Regions from separate parts of the Homo sapiens genome. Here regions 1, 2 and 3 are each linked to region 4. The links are contacts of gene promoters, found by promoter capture Hi-C in blood cells and fetal thymus (Javierre and others, 2016). All regions are on one chromosome and are shown on one strand. Each heading gives the region's core, a stretch centred on a gene start or on the middle of the fragment in contact. The rest is flanking DNA. Distances are from core to core; before and after follow the strand shown.

What was found. The method cuts DNA at HindIII sites, captures the fragments that hold promoters and counts their contacts. A CHiCAGO score of 5 or more calls a contact.
Region 1: a fragment that was not itself captured here is called in contact with the fragment with the promoter of SEMA3C in region 4 in 8 of 17 cell types (megakaryocytes, M2 macrophages, M0 macrophages and 5 more); the score reaches 30.7 in megakaryocytes.
Region 2: a fragment that was not itself captured here is called in contact with the fragment with the promoter of SEMA3C in region 4 in 7 of 17 cell types (megakaryocytes, erythroblasts, M2 macrophages and 4 more); the score reaches 18.4 in megakaryocytes.
Region 3: a fragment that was not itself captured here is called in contact with the fragment with the promoter of SEMA3C in region 4 in 2 of 17 cell types (M1 macrophages and megakaryocytes); the score reaches 6.1 in M1 macrophages.

The regions. Positions count from the first base shown.
Region 1 is chr7:81,459,358-81,464,986 of GRCh38, forward strand. It overlaps the pseudogene EIF4EP4. Among named protein-coding and RNA genes, the nearest start is that of HGF, 310 kb to the right of the region's middle. The HindIII fragment of the contact is 1,220 bases long and covers 3,613-4,832 here.
Region 2 is chr7:81,438,027-81,443,900 of GRCh38, forward strand. No RefSeq gene overlaps it. Among named protein-coding and RNA genes, the nearest start is that of HGF, 330 kb to the right of the region's middle. The HindIII fragment of the contact is 2,920 bases long and covers 1,483-4,402 here.
Region 3 is chr7:81,479,773-81,485,625 of GRCh38, forward strand. No RefSeq gene overlaps it. Among named protein-coding and RNA genes, the nearest start is that of HGF, 290 kb to the right of the region's middle. The HindIII fragment of the contact is 803 bases long and covers 2,579-3,381 here.
Region 4 is chr7:80,915,530-80,920,832 of GRCh38, forward strand. It overlaps SEMA3C (semaphorin 3C), which reads right to left and starts at 3,522. Exons shown (of 18, transcript NM_006379.5): 1 at 3,299-3,522; 2 at 1,150-1,290. The coding sequence starts at 1,252. RefSeq lists an enhancer at 3,042-3,111 and a silencer at 3,659-3,788. The HindIII fragment of the contact is 5,149 bases long and covers 3,161-5,303 here.

The DNA of each region.
Region 1 (5,629 bases), core at 2,973-5,472, 540 kb after region 4:
TGGGGGGGATGAAATAATGCGTTGTTATACACAGTATATTACATATGTGTAAGGCATGACATCTTTCATGTTGGCAGATGTTATGCTACAGCTGAAAGAACAAGTTCACTGGAGCTAAGCAGACCTGAATTTGAATCCTCAATATAACTTGGGCATGTTTGTTGACTTTTCTGAGGCTCAGTCTCTTGTCCAGGGAAGGTTTAACTCTACCATTTCCCTACATACATCTCCAAGTCAGGGCTTCCAGACCTTCCCTGTTATCACTAGCCACTCCCCAAGCAGGCTTGGTAGCCAGGATGGGCTCTGTCCTCCCCAGTGGAGGCTATCTCACTCTTCAGAATGTGTCCCGCTATGCAATCTCTCCCTCCACATGCGCCATCCATGTCTTCTTTCTCTTATAATCTCTCTTGTATACTTTGTTCTTACACAGATATTTCAGAATTTATGACTAGGTCAGCACATCATGTTTCCCAATATATGAGTACTTGATTTGTATTAGTTTTTTCTATTTACTTATACACTATTGATTGCATCCTCACCGTAAACAATGACGAAACTAATATATTGTCCTTCCCCCCACCTCTTCCCTCTCTGAACATTCCAATTTTAGTTAATTATGTTGATTGCTTGGTCACCTTTTTAACTTCAATTGTCTCAAATTACTTAATTGATGTTTAACCCTTGCAATAAAACAAAAGGGAAATGATCTCATTCCACTTCTACCTTCCTTCCTTTTTTTCTTATTTATATAATTTGTACATAATCTGGGCTTATAACATTTACAGTCTGTTCTGTATGTATAATCCTAACTTATGTTAGGAAATTGCTATAGTTAAAACGATGTCAATTCTCAATTCACTTCTCTCCATGAAGGAGTAGCCAGGACTGGTGTTGCATACTTATCTTAAAAAAAAATAAAAGAATGAGATGAAATATACAATCTAATTTTTGGTCTGACACATTGGACAACAGACAGCACAGAACAGTGACCCTGAGGGAAAGGGAGCAAGGTCAACCCTGGGATTGCCACAGCTCACTGTCTGGAAACTTCTGTCCACAGTACAGACAGGTGGAATCTAAGCAAAACCTGGTGATCTGGGTTGAAGAGATACCCAGAGTGGAGGTCAATGTGGCTAGAATTTACAGGGCAGGGAAACAGGAGAGAGCAGCCAGAAAAAGGCAGAGCTTAACACCCTTTTGTGAGATTATTTCAGCACAGAACATCATGCTTAGTGGAGGAGCCTTTCAAGCTCATTAAACTATTGCAGAAGTTTTATTAGAATGTAATATAATGATATGTTTGCAAATGCCAGAGCATTTAAATTAGACTTAATATTTAATTTCCTTCCTCTTCTTAATACAATGTTTTATTGAAGGGCTCTAATCAGACAGCTACAACGATAGTAAGAGATTGTATTTTCTGGGAGAATAGACAGTGTGGTACTGACAGATAAAGATAGAAAGAGGAAGTAGAGTTTGAGCACCTGATGGCCAGATGTGGGTGCACTGTGTTAATAAGCCATTTCATCAACATTAACAGCCTTCTGTTATAGAGCAGAAGATTGCTTGAAGTTAGATCATGTAAGGAAGTTTCCTCAAAACACTGAAGCAGATGGAAAGCTGCTTGAATATAACTTCACTAGCTGCACACAGTTGGACATCCTCATTTAGGCAGAAGAAAAGACTTCAGCAGAAAGAAGGGCTCAGGTAGGCATGAACCATGCAGACCTGTCTTACAAAGCATTTGTGAGATCATTTTAAAAAATAAATGCCTAAGATCTTAGTCATATTTAGTTTGTTTTGCACATTTTTCCAAATCCCAGATTTTTTAAATGTTATAATTAATCAGATAAAGATGTGCTCAATACAATTCAAAGCTATTCAGGTAATAAGAAATAAATCTTCTAAGATAAAAATATTTTGCATTTCTTATACCTGCTTGGAATTTGTAAGAGATTCAAATTATGTTTAGTTCATTTTTCAAACTAATATTTGATATGGAATACTTTGCTTAATTATTCTCTAAATCTTACCTGAACAGAAGGAAAAAACAATTAAAAAGTGTCCTTTAATTTAGCATGTATGTCATATATGTTGCCACTTAATTTTCTTATTAACCAATAAATGAAGATATCTTCATTTCCATGTTTCATTGAGAAAACTAATGTCTAAATGGATTGAGTAACCTACCTGACGAAGACTGCAGATCTAGTAAATGGTAGAAACAAGTCATAAACCTGAATTTAAAATGTAGGATGAGAAATGAGAATAGCCATAAAAGTCACTACTAAAATGAATATACAAACCTTTCAATTATCAAAATACACAAACACACACATACAAGGATAATACAATAAAGATTAAGGGGAAAAAGTAAAAACAGAAAGCATTACATAAGATATGATGCCAGAACCTAAACCAAATATGTTAATCATGTGAGTAAATATTAATTGACTCCAAGCAGAAATTGAAGAAAAAAAAAATCTTATCTTTCACTGGACCATAAAGTAAAAGGTTGTACAGTTGCAGACAAGCTCAGCAAGGCCTTGGGGAGGCTATGAGGCATCTTGCTGGTCCATGGAGTTCCTTGTCTCCCAAGACTGGACCTCTCTTAGATCCCTGCTCCCTTCAGTCATTGGCTGGGAACAGCGCATCCATACTCAACAATGACTTTCAGAGTAAAGATGCTGGGTCCTAGGTCAGTCATGCTCCCAGTGTTGGAGGTGTGCAAGCCCCATTCACATAGTTGCTTTACAGAAGCATTGTTTTAGAAATTAAAAGAAAAACAAAAGAAAAAATAAAACACTAGAATAATATTTAAGACTATGCAACTGATTCAAATAACCTTCTGAAACCACAGATCATTTAATGAGGATGTGATGGCTTCTTCTAAAAAAATGTAATAGTGTTTTGTTATTCCCTTGTGGCAGGTTTTGTGTTTATTTTGATGTTTATAATGTAAGTACATCAATAAGGTTACTTTTTATTTGTTTGTTGATCTATTTATTGATCACAGATAATTAGGCAGAATAGCAGATGTGCAGAATGGCAGGCCATGTGTGATTTTTGTGTGTGTGCAGGAGGGGGCATGAAAATATATGTTTATTATAGCTTTTTGTCATATTCCTTGATCCTTCACCAATGTTAGATGAGTGAAAACAAAAGCAAAAACAAAAATTGGGGAAGAAAATCACTAGAAATCATTAGAAATTGAGTGAAACAAAAATAAGTGCTATAGAAAATTGCAGAAAATGGTATGCATCATTCTGTTTTAAATGAGCAAAATATACTACCATATATTTTGGACATTCAACTGATTTTTTGCTGCTAAGCAGAGAAACAGAAGTTACATTCTGAGTATTATGGATAAACTATTCTGTAACAGTAATTCTACGAAACTATTGCAGAGCATGCTAGGAAAAACAGATTCTGGGGATGATGTGTATTATGATTCATTTATTTACATTGCAGATGCTTAAGACACACACACATACACACACACACACACACACACAGCTCAAAACAGAAAAGGAAGTCAAATGAGGCTTTTCACTTATCATAGCATTATTAGATAGAATCAAATTTTAATGCAGTCCACACTGCTTCTGAATAAGCTTATGTTTAGCTCCCAAATCTCAATTATTGATAGTCTCTTATGATGACCCAGGAGAATTCTTAAACAATGAATCTCATTTTAGTGGTTGAAGGCACTCATTAGCTGAATCTGCTTGGGGCTGATAACTGATCACTACTTTGAGTAAGTCTTAATCTTTTCTTGTAATGCTCTCTCCTGGTATAACTGCATCTCTGTTTTCACATCCAGTCTTCCAAAATGCTCGCTACCTTATCCACTTCAGAGATAATAACAACAATTTCCATATGCATGATCTCTGCAGTCATCAAATGAAACATCTAGAGACGGTCACAGTATCTAGTCTAAGGAGGTCAGATCACTATTGCTGCCGTTAATTCAATGTAATTAGCCATCCTTCGCATTTGCTTTTCTTATGTTTCCACATTGGCCAATACAATCTTTAAAAAGTGAGTAGTCACAGGAAGGCATCAAAATACTCAACAAGTATATATGGTTGTACAGAGCCCACAAGCCCTCTACACTAGGAAATTTAGAGATCAGGCAAAGAATTGCTTGCTAAGATATTTAGCACATTTAAAACATTTTTTATTTTTATTATAGTTTTATTATAGTATCCTGGGTTAGCAACACAATAGTTAATTTCTGTTTTGTCTTCTGGAGAGGGCTTAGTAGTAGGGTTGGTTTAAGATCCCACAACTACAACTTAGATGAATCTGCTCATACCCACATTTAGAATTCTTCATCAAACCGCTTCTTATTGTTCAGAAGGCTCTCTGGTGAGTAGACACAAGAATTTAGCTTTTTATTTTTTTGAAATGATTCATGATTCTCAGAGCTTTAGTGCATCAGGTAGATACACATAAATTAGAAGAAAATTAGTGTATTTGTAGAAGTGACAGAGATATATCTTATTTGTACTGTTGTAATTATATACCATATGCATGCATTACTTTTTTTAACATTAAATAATCCATTTACAATTCTTATGAATGCTGAGACTTACCTTGTGTACTTCGAGATTCATATGCTGGAAATTTAATCCCCAGTGTAACAGTTTTGGGAGGTGGGGACTAATGGGAGGGCTCCACTCTCTTGAATGCCACGATGGAGATGTGGCTGGAGGGCTTAGGTGGGTCTCCAGATGCAGATAAGACCCTCACCCCATCCAGTGTCCAGGTTCTTGACACCATCACGAGAAAGAATTCAGGGAACACTCAGAAGGAAGCAAAAGGCAAGAAGCTTTTATTGCAAAGTGAAAGTATACAGTTAAGAGAGAAGTGTGCACATGTTCGTGAGAACGAGTTGTGCTCAATGGAGTTTGAGTTTCTAATTTTATGGGCTCTTTTAATTAGGGGACAGAATAATCATGAGCTTTTCCAGGAAAAGGGTAGAGAATTTTTAGAATTTGGGTGCCACCCATTTTTATACTAAATATGGATAGGCTCGGATCTGTCATGGTATTGGTAGGTGAGTGATTTAGTATGGTAATTAGTCTACAGTTAGGTTTGGGGTAGGACATTGGTCAAATCCAATGCCACATTGGACCCAGCCAGCCTCAGCTGCTTAGCCCCTATCCTGTTTGTTAGGGTCTTATCAGCCCAGGCCCATCCTTGCCCTTATAGCTAATTTTAATAGCTCCTGTCTTGCTGCTAGGTGAAATTGCTGCCTGGTATTTTCCTACTTCTACTGTGACCACCCAGCATTCCTGCTTTATGGGTGTTTCTTTAATTTGGGGGTAGAATAATCATTAGGTATTTTGGAAAAAGGGGATTTCAAGGACCCCTGGTTACCGACTCCTTTCTCCCTTATTTGGGTTTGCTTGGAAGAGTCCTGCACATGTCACCCTGACTGTGTTATTAGCTGTTTTCTCTCTCCTACTTTGGGTTTTCTGTAATCCTGTGGTTTCTCTGTCTTTTTCTTGTTTTTGCTGTTGTTTGGGTTTTTCCATCCTCCTGAGACTATCCAGTGCTATTCCTATCTCAAAAAGAGCTTGTGAAAGTGGGTTTTCTCTCTTCTGTTTTTCTGCCATGGGAG
Region 2 (5,874 bases), core at 1,693-4,192, 520 kb after region 4:
CTTTGCCTACAATGACCCCCCACATATTGTGACACATCTCCTTGACCTGTACAAGATCTACTGTGAACTTTAAAATTTACTTTAAATTTACTCTAAAATTTCAACCTGCCCTGACTCTGTAGCTACTGATCACCTTCACTCTCTTCTATGTTTCACCTTTTATTACAGTGGGATGCTTTAAAAATATTATATTTAACAGTTTATTTATTTATTTATTTATTTATTTATTTATTTATTTATTTATTTATTTTTTGAGATGGAGTCTCACTCTGTCGCCCAGGCTGGAGAGCAGTGGCGCCACCTCGGCTCACTGCAAGCTCCGCCTCCCGGGTTCACGCCATTCTCCTGCCTCAGCCTCCCGAGTAGCTGGGACTACAGGGGCCCGCCACTACGCCAGGCTAATTTTTTTCTATTTTTAGTAGAGACGGGGTTTCACCATGTTAGCCAGGATGGTCTTGATCTCCTGACCTCATGATCCGCGCGCCTCGGCATCCCAAAGTGCAACAGTTTATCTCTTACTTCTAGAATGTAAGACCCATGAGAATGAGGATTTTTGTTGTTTTTCTGTTCAATGATACACACCAAATATTTAGAGCATTCCGTAGGATGTATTGGGTCTTTGATTAATAAATATTTGTTGAATTAATAAATTAACTTAGGTTTACTCTGTGAAATACATTTACAATGATATTGAAAAGAAAGTCTTTGGGAGGTATTGAATTCCCATGACAGAAAAAATTCAACCTGGGCAGGTTCTTCAAATTGGACAGTTTTGGGTGATGCTAACATTGAAAAGATAATTGGGTTCAATGACTGTGAAGTCTTCCCACTTGTCAATTATGTGATCCTTGAAGTGCAATCAAGGAGCACTGATGTGTAGATGGGAAAAGCATTCATAGAATAAAATAATTATAAAAATATGTATTCAGTAACTATTATGTGCCATTCAGGCTGCTGCAATTGGGCTACAGAAGGGGAACAAGACAAAGATCCTACTCACATAAAGATTAAATCTAGGGAGAAGACAGGCAATAGACAATTAAATGAGCATTTAATTAATATAAACATTAAATTAAATGATAATTTCAGGTCGTTTTAATTGCTATTAAAACAGGTAAAATGATAGAAAGCAAACCAACAGTATTGAAGCTAACTAGATAGTTTGGTGAGGAAATACTACTTGAGCTAAATCCTGAATGTGGAAAAGTCACCAGAGCAAATACTGAGGGAGAGCCACAGGAGAGAAGGACAGCAAGTACACAAAGGTCCTGAGAGTGACATAGCCTATTTGGGGTACAAAGAGAACGCCTGTGGCAAGAGTGAGGAACATGGCAAGGGGTTGAGGAGGAGAGCAGGGCTGGGGTGGTGGAGGTCACTGGAGGTGTCTCATTACTTTTGGATCATTATTTTGTTGCATCTGTGAAAGAAACACTTCATTTAGACAACTATATATGTTTAATAACACACTTGCAGCCATTATGAAGCTTAGGTATAATTATTATTTTCTTATTAGGCTTTTATTTTTGACATTTTTCTTCACTTCTGAAATAAAATAGGCTCACTCAACTTTCAATATTTTTTTTCTTAAGCTAAATTTACCTCTCTGGGGCTAAAATGTTCTCCTTTATTTGATATTTTCTGCCTAAATGTAGTGAGAAAGCCAATCCTTTACTGCATATAACTATTTTTCTGAAGTTTCAAAAGAAGACATTATTCTCTTATACTCTGAAGATTTATTTGTAAAACTTCTACAAGGAAGGAAGGGAAACCACAGAAAATTTTGAAGCAGGAGATGAAAAGTAAACACAGTAGCTTGTTGAAACATGGTTAGCAAATGAAGAGGAAGGCTGTAGAAAAAGAACTAAGAATTCTTTTCAGACCTGGAAAGTTGTTGGAATTAAGAACCCATGAACTGATAAAGTCGGGGTGAGAATGTTTCAGTTAAAGTCAAATAAATAGATTCCAAGAGACAAGGAAAATTGTGAATCTATCCAATCATTGAATAATCAAAAAAATGCTTTTTTATCTTTTGTTTTTTAAAAATGTAATTCAAAATTAATTTAAAAACAACTTTAAAATTGAGCTTTAGCTCTCGATATTATTAAATTATACAAGATGATCATAATATTTAAAAGTATATTGTTGATGACCCTTTATTTTCTAGAAACATTATCTTGAGTTATAAAACACTTATTTTTATTAAAAAAGACAAGAGAAATGAGACTTCTTTTTTCTTTTTTTAAGAAAAGTAACTGTCTAGCTATTTTATATCTGTAGTTTAGTTCTTCAGAAATAAAGCTGACATTTTAGTTTTTGTCAAAAATATGTATGGAAGATTTTGAGTTTAATTTTTTATGAAAGTATTTTTAGAACATAATTTAAAAATAAAACAGACATACTATGTACATCTAGAAATATATCTCAACAACTCATGTATCTGTCTAAGATATATTCATATAAATTAGGATACAGCAAGACAAACTATGTATATCTACATAATAAACTTGGATAATTTATGTAATTATCTCTATTTTGAACAGTTTAAATGCATTTTTTCTGCATTGAAAGTAATTTTTAAAATCGCAGTATCCTTCTCTCATTTGTTCTTAAATTACCCAGCCCACTAAAAATATTGAAACATATGTTTGACACATATATGATGCAAATTTTAGCAGCAGTTACCTTTGGGACTTGGGAAAGGTGGAGGGAGATTTAAGGGTGGAGGGAGTTGGAGGAGGAGAAACTCTCATATTTTACCCTTTGTATTCTATATAGAGCAAATTTATTATTATTATTTATTAAGTATGTATTATAATGTTAGATTTTTAAGGACAAGTAAAAATCTTGCTACAAAGAACTAAGAAACAGAATCTGCCTACGGATGTTTATTGCAGCTTTATTTATAATTGCCCAAACTTGGAAGCATCCTAGATGACCTTCGGTAGGTGAGTGAATAATTAAACTGTAGTGCATCCAGACCATGGGAAGAAATGAGCTATCAAGCCATGAAGAAACATGGAGGAAAACTAAGGGCACATTATTAAGTGAAGTAAGACATCTAGAAAGGCAACATACTGTATGACTGCAACTATATGACATTATTGAAAGGGCAAAACTTTGCAGACAGTGGAGACAGTGGTTGACAGGGCTTGTGGGGAAGGAGGTATGAAGAGGAAGAACACAGATGATCTTTAAAGCAGTGAAAATATTCTGTATGATACTATAATGATGGATACATGTCATTATACGTTTGTTCAAACCCATAGAATGTACAACACCAACAGCAAACCTTAATGTAAACTCTGGGGTTTGGGTGATAATGATATGTTGATGCAGCTCCGTTGATGGTGGCTAATGTACCACTCTGGTGAAAGGTGTCGAAAATGCAGAAGGCTATGCATGAGTTGGGACAGGGGTATATGAGAAATCTCTGTACCTCTCAATTTCGCTGTGAACCTAAAACTGCTCCAAAAAATTAAATCTTACAAAAACAGAAACAAAGAATACCTTTAAAAGGAGCTCATAGGATATTTGAAAAATACTTTAATCTTTGAATATAATATAACTTTTTAAAATGTTAACATAAAGACTTAAAAGCACTCTAATGTGGAGAAAGATCAGAATTTAACATCTCTTAGAATAATTTTTACAAAGATGTGTATTTTTCTCAACATACACAATGATTAAATCCCCAAAGAAAAGAAACCTCTTTACTGGGGCTAATTCTTTTTGGAATGTGTGGAAGTACATTATAAGGACTTCATGGTGATTTTGTGACAATGAGATGGAATAATCAAATGCAACACAAGATTTTTCCAATAAAACACACAGTGGATCTGGCCTCTGTACAGAAAATAAATATCTCAGGCATCTACAACTAGCAAGCCATTTTTTAAAATTAGACCCTGACATACAACCATGACTGATAAGATAAACTGCAGACACAATGTTTTTTTGCTGATAGGAGTAATGTTTTTGAATTCTTGAAATTCGTGTCTGAATTAGAATGCCTCATGTGTGTTACCTATTGATTTTTAAAAGGTTTATTAATATCCAATACTTACACTCTGTTATGATTCTAATACTAAGTAATCATTCTGAAGGGGCTTATAAATTTCTTAATTGAAAATTTTCTATTGTATAGTTTTTCCCCACTACAAAATAAAAGACTGTGTATTATTTAAGTTATAGTAAGTATTATGGCAGCCTGTAATATTTTACATTCTTTGACTTTAAGTAAATGTGGATTAGTATCTATGTTCCAACCTTTGCCCAATTCCATCCCTGTAATCATGAGGCAATATTTATACCTAAGACAATTCTTATCTTTGGAGTTTTGTGGAATGGCAACATGTGGGCAAATAGGATTAGGAAACCTGGTAGCGTGTAGTAAAGCTCATGAAGCTTCCCCTTTAACCAATATTAGCTCTCCTACCCGCTTTCTGGATTACTAGCAGTATCCTAAATGAGTTCAAGTTTGATTAGAAACCCTTAGATCAATGTGTATGCAAATATTTAAGCCCATGGTTTCTCTGTCATTGAAGGCAGAGTAAACGTAATTTTTTTTTTTTTTTTTTTTTTTTTTTTGCTCTGCCTCCCCTCCCACCTCCAAACCTTTGCCAAGGCTGTTGCCCTATCCTAGGCTGGATTCCCCTTTGGGCTGCCCCATGACTTGTCAAAAACATATCCTCAAAAGTTTAAGGGACTCTCAAAGCTGGATTTTTCTCAAAGGTGTCCAGAGCACTTCTTTTTTTTTTTTTTTTTTTGTCATCTAAATTTTTTTTAAAATTATTATTATTATACTTTAAGTTTTAGGGTACATGTGCACAATGTGCAGGTTAGTTACATATGTATACATGTGCCATGCTGGTGTGCTGCACCCATTAACTCGTTATTTAGCATTAGGTATATCACCTAATGCTATCCCTCCCCTCTCCCCGGCCCCACAACAGTCCCCAGAGTGTGATATTCCCCTTCCTGTGTCCGTGTGTTCTCATTGTTCAATTCCCACCTATGAGTGAGAATATGTGGTGTTTGATTTTTTGTTCTTGCAATAGTTTACTGAGAATGATGATTTCCAGTTTCATCCATGTCCCTACAAAGGACATGAACTCATCATTTTTTATGGCTGCATAGTATTCCATGGTGTATATGTGACACATTTTCTTAATCCAGTCTATCATTGTTGGACATTTGGGTTGGTTCCAAGTCTTTGCTATTGTGAATAGTGCCGCAAAAAACATACGTGTGCATGTGTCTTTATAGCAGAATGATTTATAGTCCTTTGGGTATATACCCAGTAATGGGATGGCTGGGTCAAATGGTATTTCTAGTTCTAGATCCCTGAGGAATCACCACACTGACTTCCACAATGGTTGAACTAGTTTACAGTCCCACCAACAGTGTAAAAGTGTTCCTATTTCTCCACATGCTCTCCAGCACCTGTTGTTTCCTGACTTTTTAATGATTGCCATTCTAACTGGTGTGAGATGGTATCTCATTGTGGTTTTGATTTGCATTTCTCTGATGGCCAGTGATGGTGAGCATTTTTTCATGTGTTTTTTGGCTTCATAAATGTCTTCTTTTGAGAAGTGTCTGTTCATGTCCTTCGCCCACTTTTTGATGGGGTTGTTTGTTTTTCTCTTGTAAATTTGTTTGAGTTCATTGTAGATTCTGGATATCAGCCCTTTGTCAGATGAGTAGGTTGTGAAAATTTTCTCCCATTTTGTAGGTTGCCTGTTCACTCTGATGGTAGTTTCCTTTGCTGTGCAGAAGCTCTTTAGTTTAATTAGATCCCATTTGTCAATTTTGTCTTTTGTTGCCATTGCTTTTGGTGTTTTAGACATGAAGTCCTTGCCCACGTGTAATCTTAAA
Region 3 (5,853 bases), core at 1,730-4,229, 560 kb after region 4:
GAGAACTTCGTGAAGCACACACAAGCTTCAGTAGCCGATTCAATCACGTGGAAGAAAGGATATCAGTGATTGAAGATCAAATTAATGAAATAAAGTGAGAAGACAAGGGTAGAGAAAAAAAGAGTGAAAAGAAATGAACAAAGGCTCAAAGAAATATGAGACTATGTGAAAAGACCAAATCTATGTCTGATTGGTGTACCTGAAAGTGATAGGGAGAATGGAACCAAGTTAGAAAACGCTTTTCAGGATATTATCCAGGAGAACTTCCCCAACTTAGCAAGGCAGGCCAACATTCAAATTCAGGAAATACAGAGAACCCCACAAAGATATTCCTCAAGAAGAGCAACCCTAAGACACATAATCTTCAGATTCACCAAGGTTGAAATGAAGGAAAAAATGTTAAGGGCAGCCAGAGAGAAAGGTTGAGTTACCAACAAAGGGAAGCCCATCAGACTAACAGCAGATCTCTCAGCAGAAACCCTGCAAGCCAGAAGAGAGTGGGGCCAATATTCAACAATCTTAAAGAAAAGAGTTTTCAACCCAGAATTTCATATCCAGCCAAACTAAGCTTCATAAGAGAAGGAGAAATAAAATCCTTTACAGACAAGCAAATGCTGAGAGATTTTGTCCCCACCAGGCCTGCCTTATAAGATCTCCTGAAGGAAGCACTAAACATGGAAAGGAACAACCAGTACCAGCCACTGCAAAAACATGCCAAATTGTGAAGACCATCAAGGCTAGGAATAAACTGCATCAATTAATGGGCAAAATAACCAACTAACATCATAATGATAGGATCAAATTCACACATAACAATATTAACTTTAAATGTAAATGGGCTAAATGCCCCAATTAAGACACAGACTGGCAAATTGGATAAAGAGTCAAGACCCATCAGTGTGCTGTATTCAGGAGACTCATCTCACGTGCGGACACACTTATGCTCAAAATGAAGGGATGGAGGAAGATCTACTAAGCAAATGGAAAGCAAAAAAAAAAGCAGGGATTGCAATCCTAGTCTCTGATAAAACAGACTTTAAACTAACAAAGATCAAGAGACAAAGAAAGCCATTAGATAATGGTAAAGGGATTAATTTAACAAGAAGAGCTAACTGTCCTAAATATATATATGCATCCAGTACAGGAGCACCCAGATTCATAAAGCAAGTTCTTAGAGACCTGCAAAGAGACTTAGACTCCCACACAATAATAACGGGAGACTTTAACACCCCATTGTCAATATTAGACAGATCAACAGGACAGAAAATTAACAAGGATATACAAGACTTGAACTCAGCTCTGGACCAAGCAAACCTAACAGACATCTACAGAATTCTCCACCCCACATCAACAGAATATACATTCTTTTCAGCACCACATCACACTTATTCTAAAATTGACCACATAATTAGAAGTAAAGCAAATGTAAAAGAACAGAAGGCCCAACAAACTGTACAATCAAATTAGAACTCAGGATTAAGAAACTCACTCAAAACGGCACAACTACATGGAAACTGAACAACCTGCTCCTGAATGACTACTGGGTAAATAACAAAATGAAGGCAGAAATAAAGATATTATTTGAAACCAATGAGAACAAAGACACAACGTACCAGAATGTCTGGGACACATGTAAAGCAGTGTGTAGAGAGAAATTTATAGCACTAAATTCCTGTAAGAGAAAGCAGGAAAGATCTAAAATCGACACCCTAATATCACAATTAAAAGAACTAGAGAAGAAAGAGCAAACAAATGCAAAAGCTAGCAGAAGACAAGAAATAAGATCAGAGCAGAACTGAAGGAGATATGAGGCACACACAAAAAAGTAATTCACAAACTCACAATTTCTTTTTTCTTTTCTTTTTCTTTTTCTTTTTTTTTTTTTTTTTTTTTTTTTTTTTTGAGACAGAGTCTCGCTCTGTTACCCAGGCTGGAGTGCAGTGGCACAATCTTGGCTCACTGCAAGCTCCGCCTCCCGGGTTCACGCCATTCTCCTTTCCCCTGCCTCAGCCTCCAGAGTGGCTGAGACTACAGGCGCCTGCCACCAAGCCCGGCTAATGTTTTGTATTTTTAGTAGAGACAGGGTTTCACCGTGTTAGCCAGGATGGTCTCAATCTCCTGACCTCGTGATCCGCCTGCCTCGGCCTCCCAACACAATTTCTTTAGCACCAGTCTTTAGAAATGACTGTGGGAATAGTTCAATTTATTGAGAAATACCTTTCTCCTCTTGCTTTATTTGGTGTTGTAACTCCTTCTTCTACCTTAGTTATTTCTATGCAGAGGTAATTTTCTAGTTGTAGAGTTAGTCACTGATGGACGCCACCTGATTATAGCAAGAGAAGGACTAGAATCATCATGTTCACTAGCACTAGGTTCTTGTGTCAGAGCACAGGACCAGGTTTCTGGAGGCTTCTATTCTGCCAGCAGAGCACAACATTTTTCAGTCACCAATGTGAGGTACAAAGAATGGGGATGATCAATGCCTTAATTCAAAAGTGTGATACATGTTTGACAATGAACAATTTATAGGTTGAAAAAAAAAAGATGTGGCAAGAAGTTCCATGTAATGAAACTTGAAAGCTTTTTAACATTCTGCTTTATAAAAACAGAAACATGAATCGTATAAAAACTGAACTAGTTTTAGATATTTCTTAATATAACATTTTCAAGATAATTTATGTAGAGCATCAGTCTAAGTGTATATTTACATTAACATGTAATAGAAAAAAGGGGATCAGGTCTGATCATCTTGTAAAGAGTTATGTTGGTGGTTGGAAGCGTGGAATTCAGACAAATAGATTATATTATGATTTGATGACAAATTATTACTTTTCTCATGACATTGTATGCATAAAAATATGCATTGTAAGAAATCTATGAAAAACTATGGGACTTCAATTCAATAGAATTTCTCCCTTAGGGTGGCATATATAAAGATTCATAAGAATAAGCAGAAGTATAGTACGCTAAGAAATGGAAATGTTATGAATTTGTAAGTGAAGTTTCTTTTAGTGCCACTAGATGGCATATGTTAGCTGTAAATCTCCCTTGAATAAAGTTTAAGATTTAACGTGACTTGTTTCCCCAGAGTATCCAACACATTTTATTTTAAATATTAATGGATTTTTATATGTTTTCTCAAATATATGACACTCAATACAATTAATAAATAATTGGAAAAATATCACATGATTATTTTTATATCAAGTTAAAACAAGAAGAATTATGTCATCTGCAAACAATTTTGTTGTCTTCCTTTCTAATTTGAATGTATTTTAGTTCTTTTTCTTGCCTAATGGTTCTAGCTAGGATCTCCAGTACTATGCTGAATAGAAGTGGTGTTAAGAAGCATTTTTGTTTTGTTTCTGGTGGTAGAGGAAAAGCTTTCAATTTTTAACCATTTAGTATGATGTTAGCTGTTGGTTTGTCACATATAGCCTTTATTATGTTGAGGCAACTTCCTTCTATACCTAGTCTGTTAAGAGTTTTTATCATTGTCAGGATGGCTGCAATATGGCGGAGTAAAAAGTCTCAGGCTACACACACTCCCCCCACCCCTTGTAAGCTTATCTAGCAATTATCCATAGACCAGAACATCTTCTTCAAAAGCCCAATATTGGAAACGAGCCTGAGACAATGTGGTACACATACCTAAGTGAAAATTGAGTGAGAAGGGTCAGAAGAATGGTCTCCCCCCCCGCCACCACGAAGTTGGCACAACACTGGTTGAAGAGCATTACCCTGGACCCATAGTTTCTGCAGTGGGGAAAGAGAACTGGAGGCAGTCATTCAGCTTCCCTAGCATTTTGAGATGCTTTCTTTCCAGGAATCCCGCCTGTCTCACCTCATAGGGAAAGAAAAGGGTAAAGGCATGGCTAGACCACCTGGGGTCAAGTAGAAACAAAGAAAGAAGGCAGAGGCCACAGTGACTAGCATATGGATCTGTGTGGCACCTCTGTGTTCACACCAGCTGCGGTGCCCAATCAGAGTTACCAGCCAACTTCATAGCCCACCCAGAAAGCTGAACTGATCTTTTTCAGAAGCACAGTGGGAAGTTCAGCCTTGCTTGAGTCCCTAGATGGCTAGCCTCCATGGCCAGGCACACAGCCTACTCTAACAACCCTGCCCAGGTAGGGAGATGCCCCCCTCTGCGCATTTTGAGAATCACACAGGCTAGATATCTTGGGTCAAGCAGTGGCTCCACTCATCCAAAAAGCTTGCCTTATAATCCTGCTGAGGCAGGGAGACAGCCACATGCATACATTTCTAAGAGGCACAAGGGCTAGACCTGTAAAACCTAGGAGTCCAAAGAGTAAGTAACTTAGCTCAGCCAAAAAGCCTGCCCAACAACCTCCCGTGTGCATTTTGCAGGAGTGTAGGAACTAAACCTGCTTGACGCAGGAAGTCAAGTAGCATCTTGACTCAGGCAAAAGTCCACCCTACAGCTCTGACCTAATGGAGGCAACCCTTAATCACACATTTTTAAGGAGCATAGGCTCTTGTCTTGCCCATCACAAGCAGCAACTTTCAAAGCCCAGCCTGAAGCCCTGCCCAAGTGCAGATTCCAAATAGTAAAATTGCCCAGCCAAGGAATACATCTTCTGACTACCCTGACCAGAGAGCATCACAGTACCAAGCCGGCAACTCTTCCTAATAGCGGAGCCCAACCAGTAGCTTCCTCTAATAGCAGAGCCCAACCATTGGTCTCTGCCTAACCAGTGGTCTCTCTGGACAGCAGAGCCCAGCCATCAGAGCAAAGGCAGTGGCCCAGCCAACTAGAGAAACCACAGCAAGTTCTGCCTGGAGTTGTCAGCCCTTTCAGAATCACAGGCTAGACTATTAGTGAAGGTCTGTTCCTACAATGAACACCTGTAAAGGCCAAACGAATGGACCATTTCTTCAAATGCACAGCAAATGCAAGGACACAAGTATTATAAAGAATCAAGGAATCATGACACCTCTACAGAAACTAATAAAACTGCAACAGCCAGAGGCAAGAAAAAGCTAAGCTCAAGCCCAGGACATATAAGTATAGTGGAGCTCCAATGAAAATTTAATTCTCATGGATGTCAGCTCCACCATGGTCAGGATCTTCATTATAAAGAAGTGAATCCTGGAATCAAGACGTCTGAAATGAGACACTTGATAAACTTGAAACTCAGACTTCTCTGAACTTTGTGGGCCTACAAAAGTGGCCTATTCCTCCCTGTTAAGAACTAGTGCTACCTACTGGCTTGAAGACAATCCCTTGCAATTTTACTTTCAGGTCATTCAGGATGAACCTCCAACTCCTCTCCTGGATATCAGACCAATAACTAGGATCAAGTCAAAATATAACCCAACTGACAAAGAGCTGATTCTATGGGGGAAGGAGAGCTGTGCACCAAAGAAGCTGCAAAACCTAGCTAGAGTGTACCAGCAGAAGCTGGGAGAGTACATATGGGACTAAATCCTGAGGGTGTCCAGGTTGAGGGATCTAGAGTTCTGGAACATAAAATTAATAAGGAAGAATTTATCAATATGAATATTGATTAATACCCTAGCACAAACCACAAGAAACAGTGTTAACATATTCCTGGAATCTTGGAAAAATGAAAAGGCCACACCAAATGAAGAATTATAGAATTCTCATAGCAAATGGTCAAGAAGGGATCAAACAGCTCACAAAAATGAGATTCTAGAGTAAATACACCATATAAGGGTAGAATACTCACCTCCAAGCTGTGTTCCACAGGAGGACCCACAGAAACTGCACTTACTAAATCAATAAGAAATTCATTGGTGAGAGTGGCATCACCATTGAGAACCTCAGTGGTAGCTGTTTTCTGTAGGCCAGGGCTGATAGTAGGAGGG
Region 4 (5,303 bases), core at 2,272-4,771:
TCAGGAGATCGAGACCATCCTGGCCAACATGGTGAAACTCCGTCTCTACTAAAAATACAAAAATTAGCTCGGTGTGGTGGCACGCACCTGTAATCCCAGCTACTGGGTAGGCTGAGGAAGGAGAATGGCTTGAACCTGGGAGGTGGAGACTGCAGTGAGCCGAGATCGTGTCACTGCACTCCAACCTGGTGACAGCGTGAGACACTGTCTCAAAAAAAAAAAAAAAAAAAGGAATTTGAGACAAAGTTTCAGAGACACTCTGCTATAGAAAGGTCTGAGAATATATTGTTTATCAAATGAAAGAAAAAGTACTTGCAATGACACTAAAGTTTATGCAGAGTTGAAAGAAGTAATAAAATTATAAATGACCTTGATTGGCAGGATGGTGTTCCTCATCCATGTCTTGCTCCATCTGTCCAATTAGTATGGGTTACTTGACTAACCAAATTCATTCATCTGTAAGTCCTTTGAACTATATACATTAAAGCTCATGCAAACCATTCCCTCAGAAGACCTTGCACCTTTTATGTATGTGAAAATCTGAAATCACACCCATTTCCCTAAGCTTCTGAGAACATTTGTATACAACAACCATCAAAAGCATATTTCCAATTATTCTTTTAGGTCCTTTTCAATTAATTAGGGGACTATGCCAATCTCAGGAAATCCTTGTGGAAAAAGAAGAAACACCATTAGAACAACACACGGAGTAACCAGTTTTGAGACTAATGCCCAAAAAATTAATTGGGAGAATTTTTTAGTAATTGAACCTGCATAGCTCTCTCTGCTGCTGAGGATTAGCACAAAGGGGCAATTTCTTAACATTACCAGGTGAACAGTAAGATCAAAGATGCTAGGCTTTGAGCTCGTGCCCATCTCCTCTGTGAGTACACAGGCAAGCACAGAAGAATTATTTTACAAAAAGCAGCATATATTATAAGCATTTTCATAAATACCTCAAATCCAACAGAGGATCTTTGTCTATTAACCAATCATTTAAAATAGCTATTGTCCTCCAAAACGCAGCCCAGTAAATATTTTTAAAATTAATATCCAGTAATATTTATACTCTTAATTTCTGAATCTGGATAAGGAAGATAACAAAACTTAAAATAACATTTTTCCCAGAGTGTTTATCAACTCTCTTACCATCAAATGTTAAATAAACTCTTGCTTGGGGCTGGGAAGATCCTTTCACACAGATAGAACAAATAAATACTCCAACCAACACGCAAATTGTCCGGAATGCCATTTCTTCAGATATGCAAGTTAATATCCAAGGGAAAATACCTTTAAGAGAGAGACAACATGTTTGTTATATCTCATTTCACATTTTAGGAGTAGGAAAAAACAGCAATCTAGACAAAACACCCTATTCACAAAAGAACCATCTGAACTTTTACAGTAATGCAAACAGTAGGAGGTGCTGTGTCTTTGCTTCTCAGATGTGAAAATGTGGATTTGATTCATTTGTGTCTGGAAGTCTTTGCAACAAGAGAAACTTTCATCTTCCAGCAAATTGATGCTACCATCAAAACAGAACAAAGCAGTGAAGAAAAACACTGATACCCAAAGGAAAGCCCAATATTTTAACGGATCTTCTCTCTAGAAATCCATTACATTAAAAAGACTTGAATAGAATTGAGCTAAAAGAATATTACTGGATGAGAACTCTTTCCCCCCACTAACGTAACAGCAGCAGCAAAATCTCACATGAGCATTCATGTGTACCTACTCACTTCAATAGTCATTAGCTCTTTTGGAGTAATTGTCTCTGGAAGTGGTGTTTCCTTACATAAATCTATGTGTGCTCAATCCTGGATCACTGAAGTCACTGGAATCAGTTATCTGCCATTTTATCCAGATGACCAACAGGCAGTTGTTAAATGATGCAGTTGAAGTAACCATGGACTAGTGCCAAATTCAAACCAATGACCTAGTGGTGAGCAATCCAGTGAGCCATGTATCCACCAATGCATATTTTAAATAAATCAACCAGAATGTGGGCTGTCAAAATTCCCAAAGATAAATCAAAGAGACAGGTGTCACTGCTTCAAACTATAGATATAAAATTGGTACATGCTATTAACTAATATCTGAATCCCAAGGAAGACCAGATAATGTGTTACCATAAACCTACAGGAGCTCTAGTGGCTACATCATGTAAAATAAACTCAGGACCATTAAAGAAACACAATCATTTTGCTTCTACCATAATTACACAATAAAGTGACCCAAGAGTCCAGTAAAGAAATTTATTTTTACAGGTTACAACAATGCTGATCTTCATTATTTGGCTTTTCAAATTAAAATTTCATAGTCAAAATTATTAAATTCTTTGTAAGAACCACTAACAACTGAAAAAGACAGCTTCATTAATACAGAATAAAAAGAATTAAATGGAATATGCAATTTTAAACAAAAATTGTAAGTAGATTTCCTAGGTGGTGCATATGTTATGAGAGTTAGAAATGAAATTGTACGCTTCTTTTACCACACAGATGGAGGAAACTCTAGAGATGTTTGTGTTGGTAATTTTCAAAAGAAACAGTTTCTTCCTGCTTCCACAACCTCTTCACCCTGTCATCCCTAAATTAACTTAGAAAGAAACTGATTTTATGGGTGACTTTCCCTCAGTAATTTACCCCTTGGTTCTGTTGACTTCATAGTTAAAGCCAAAAGAAAAAAACTATTAATATGCCTAACCTTTGTTATGTTTACTGAGCAAGTTGATATTATTTACACATTTTTTTTACATATTGGTATCTTACCTTATATGTTTCTCCCAAAAGTACATATACAACCAATTGCAAAGAATACTGGTGATACAATGGCAGGTGAAACGAAGATAGTCTACAGGGCAATTTGATTTACATCCCACCTAGTGATGAGGAGTGAAAGACTGAAAGCCAAGTGTCTTAAATACACCCCCGCCTCCCCAACAGTATCTTACAACTTCTTCCCTTTAACTCAGACACAGACGTTCCTCTTGGTGTTTTCACTTCTGCTGATCGCAAACTAACAACACATTAAGAAAAGAATTCTCTTATCTCCTCTGGAGCAATTTTGCCTTTGAAGGCACTGTAATACTCAACTTGAAACTCTCCGCAGGTGTCACCGCCTAAAGAAACAACTCGAGCAGGGCTCTCAGCAAGGGGAAAGCTTCCCTGACAAACCGCGTGTGTTCTTAAGAAAATGTCCAGGCTTGAGCATACCAATGTATGAAAAATCAATATACAGGCCAAAAAAGTTATACTTTGCTAAATCTGTAATGCGGAAAATGACCAATTTAGCTTACCGAGGTTGAAAGAAATCAGCACGGAAAAGTCATCAGTTTGCTACCGGGGTTGGATGCGCTTGTGTCTCCAGTCCTTTTCCCAGACGACCTTATTTTCTAGCACGTCGCAAAGGTGAAATTCTTTCTTCCCGGTCCTCTGAGTTTCTTTGTAAAGGAATCTCAGCGCTGCAGTGCCGCGGCACCCGGAGCTCTTCTCCGCGTCGCTCAATCAAGCACCTCGGAGTGAATGGAAAGTGGCCGGAGGCCGGGGGCGAGCGCTCTTGGTGTCCGATTACAGCGCCGCGGCGCGCGGCTCCGGCTGCCCCGGCGCGCCGCCCTGCAGGCTCGCATCACCACCGCGCAGCCCCGGCCGCATCTCCGCCAGCCGCGAGGCCCCACCCCGAGCGCGCCCGCGAGAGCCTGGCAGGGAGCCGCGGGGGCGGACCGGGCGGGGCCGACCCTTAGAGCTCGCGGCTGGCCAGACGCAAGAATGCGCGGCCGCAGGCTGGAGCCCTAGCTCCGCAACCCTGCTCCTTTCGCAGTCCGCGGCGGAGTGAGCAACTTGCTGGGTGCGCTCCACGGTTTTTGTTGCCGGCGGCTCTCGAAGACTTACACAGGCTTTGCCTGGCCGTAAATATCAAAGTGCAAAGCAGTTGTGGTTTTTTATTTTTGCCAGGGAAGGATCACTGCAGCCTTTTAAGGCAAAGAGATGCGTTTTTAAAAGGACGTGAGTTTTGTCCTTATTCTGCTGCGTTTTTTTTTTGTTTTTTGTTTTTTGTTTTTTGTTTTGTTTTTGGAGAGGGAATCTCACTCTGTCGCCAGGCTGGAGTGCAGTGCAGTGGTGTGATCATGGCTCACTGCAACCTCCGCCTCCCGGGTTCAAGCGATTCTCCTGCCTCAGCCTCCTGAATAGCTGGGACTACAGGCTCCCACCACCACGCCCAGCTAATTTTTGTATTTTTAGTAGAGACAGGGCCAGGATGGTCTGGATCTCTTGACCTAATGGTCCGCCCGCCTCAGCCGCCCAAAGTGCCGAGAGCCACCGCGCCGGGCCTCTGTTGCGTGTTTTCTAAAACAGGTCAAGATAAACGACAATCTTGTTGCACAAGTGTATCCTTTTAATGGGTATTGTTTCCTATTGAGTTTCCTTAATGCCCTGAAAGCAGTAATTCTGTTGACCCCTCCACGTTGACTCATATCCAGTACGTTGTCCCCAACCATACTCCCAAACATAATTACACGAAGAAATTATTTGACAATTCTATGTGGAGAGGCTGTTCTGAGTTATGCCAACAGATTGCCATAACCACACATCTACAGAAATACATCAGAGGTATTTTTCCAGCATTACTTTCAGGTACACTCGTTAAACTCTGGAACTGACTTTGATGTTTAAGTGAAAATTACTTCTCCGGACCACAATAAACTAGATGTTTAAACATCGGGAGAAATGAGCTTTGATCCCCATAAAACAAGCAGGCACTTGCTTAAAATCACTGTGGGGCACAGCCCAGCAGATGTCACTCTACAGAAGGAACGTGGAGTGTAATATCTCCACCTTATACCTGACAATTCACATAATGAAACAATCATTAAATTCTTATAAACTGTATCATAGAAAACCCCTCTGGGGGTGCAAAATCATTGTTCAGTGGGAAAGTTGAATGAAATCTCAGGTAGGAGGAAGAGGTGAGTGAGACACATCTTTCATGTGTCTGGGGCCCACCTCTTGTGTTCAGTAAACATACACGTGTCTCAGACTCACGCTGCATAGTCAAGGAACGAAGGATCAAGTCAAATAATGCAAATTTATGAGTTCAAAAATACTATTCCAGGGCTAATATTATCTCCAAACGTCAAAAAATTAATATAGTAACAACAGTTAAAATTATTTTTTGTGATGATGCGTGAGAAGATCCTTGACATAAATTTGTAATAAGGAATTTAACCCCCCAAAAACTGACAATATTAAAATCCAGATGTCAATGTGAATAAGCACTGTGCGTGCTTCTCTGAAATACTTCTG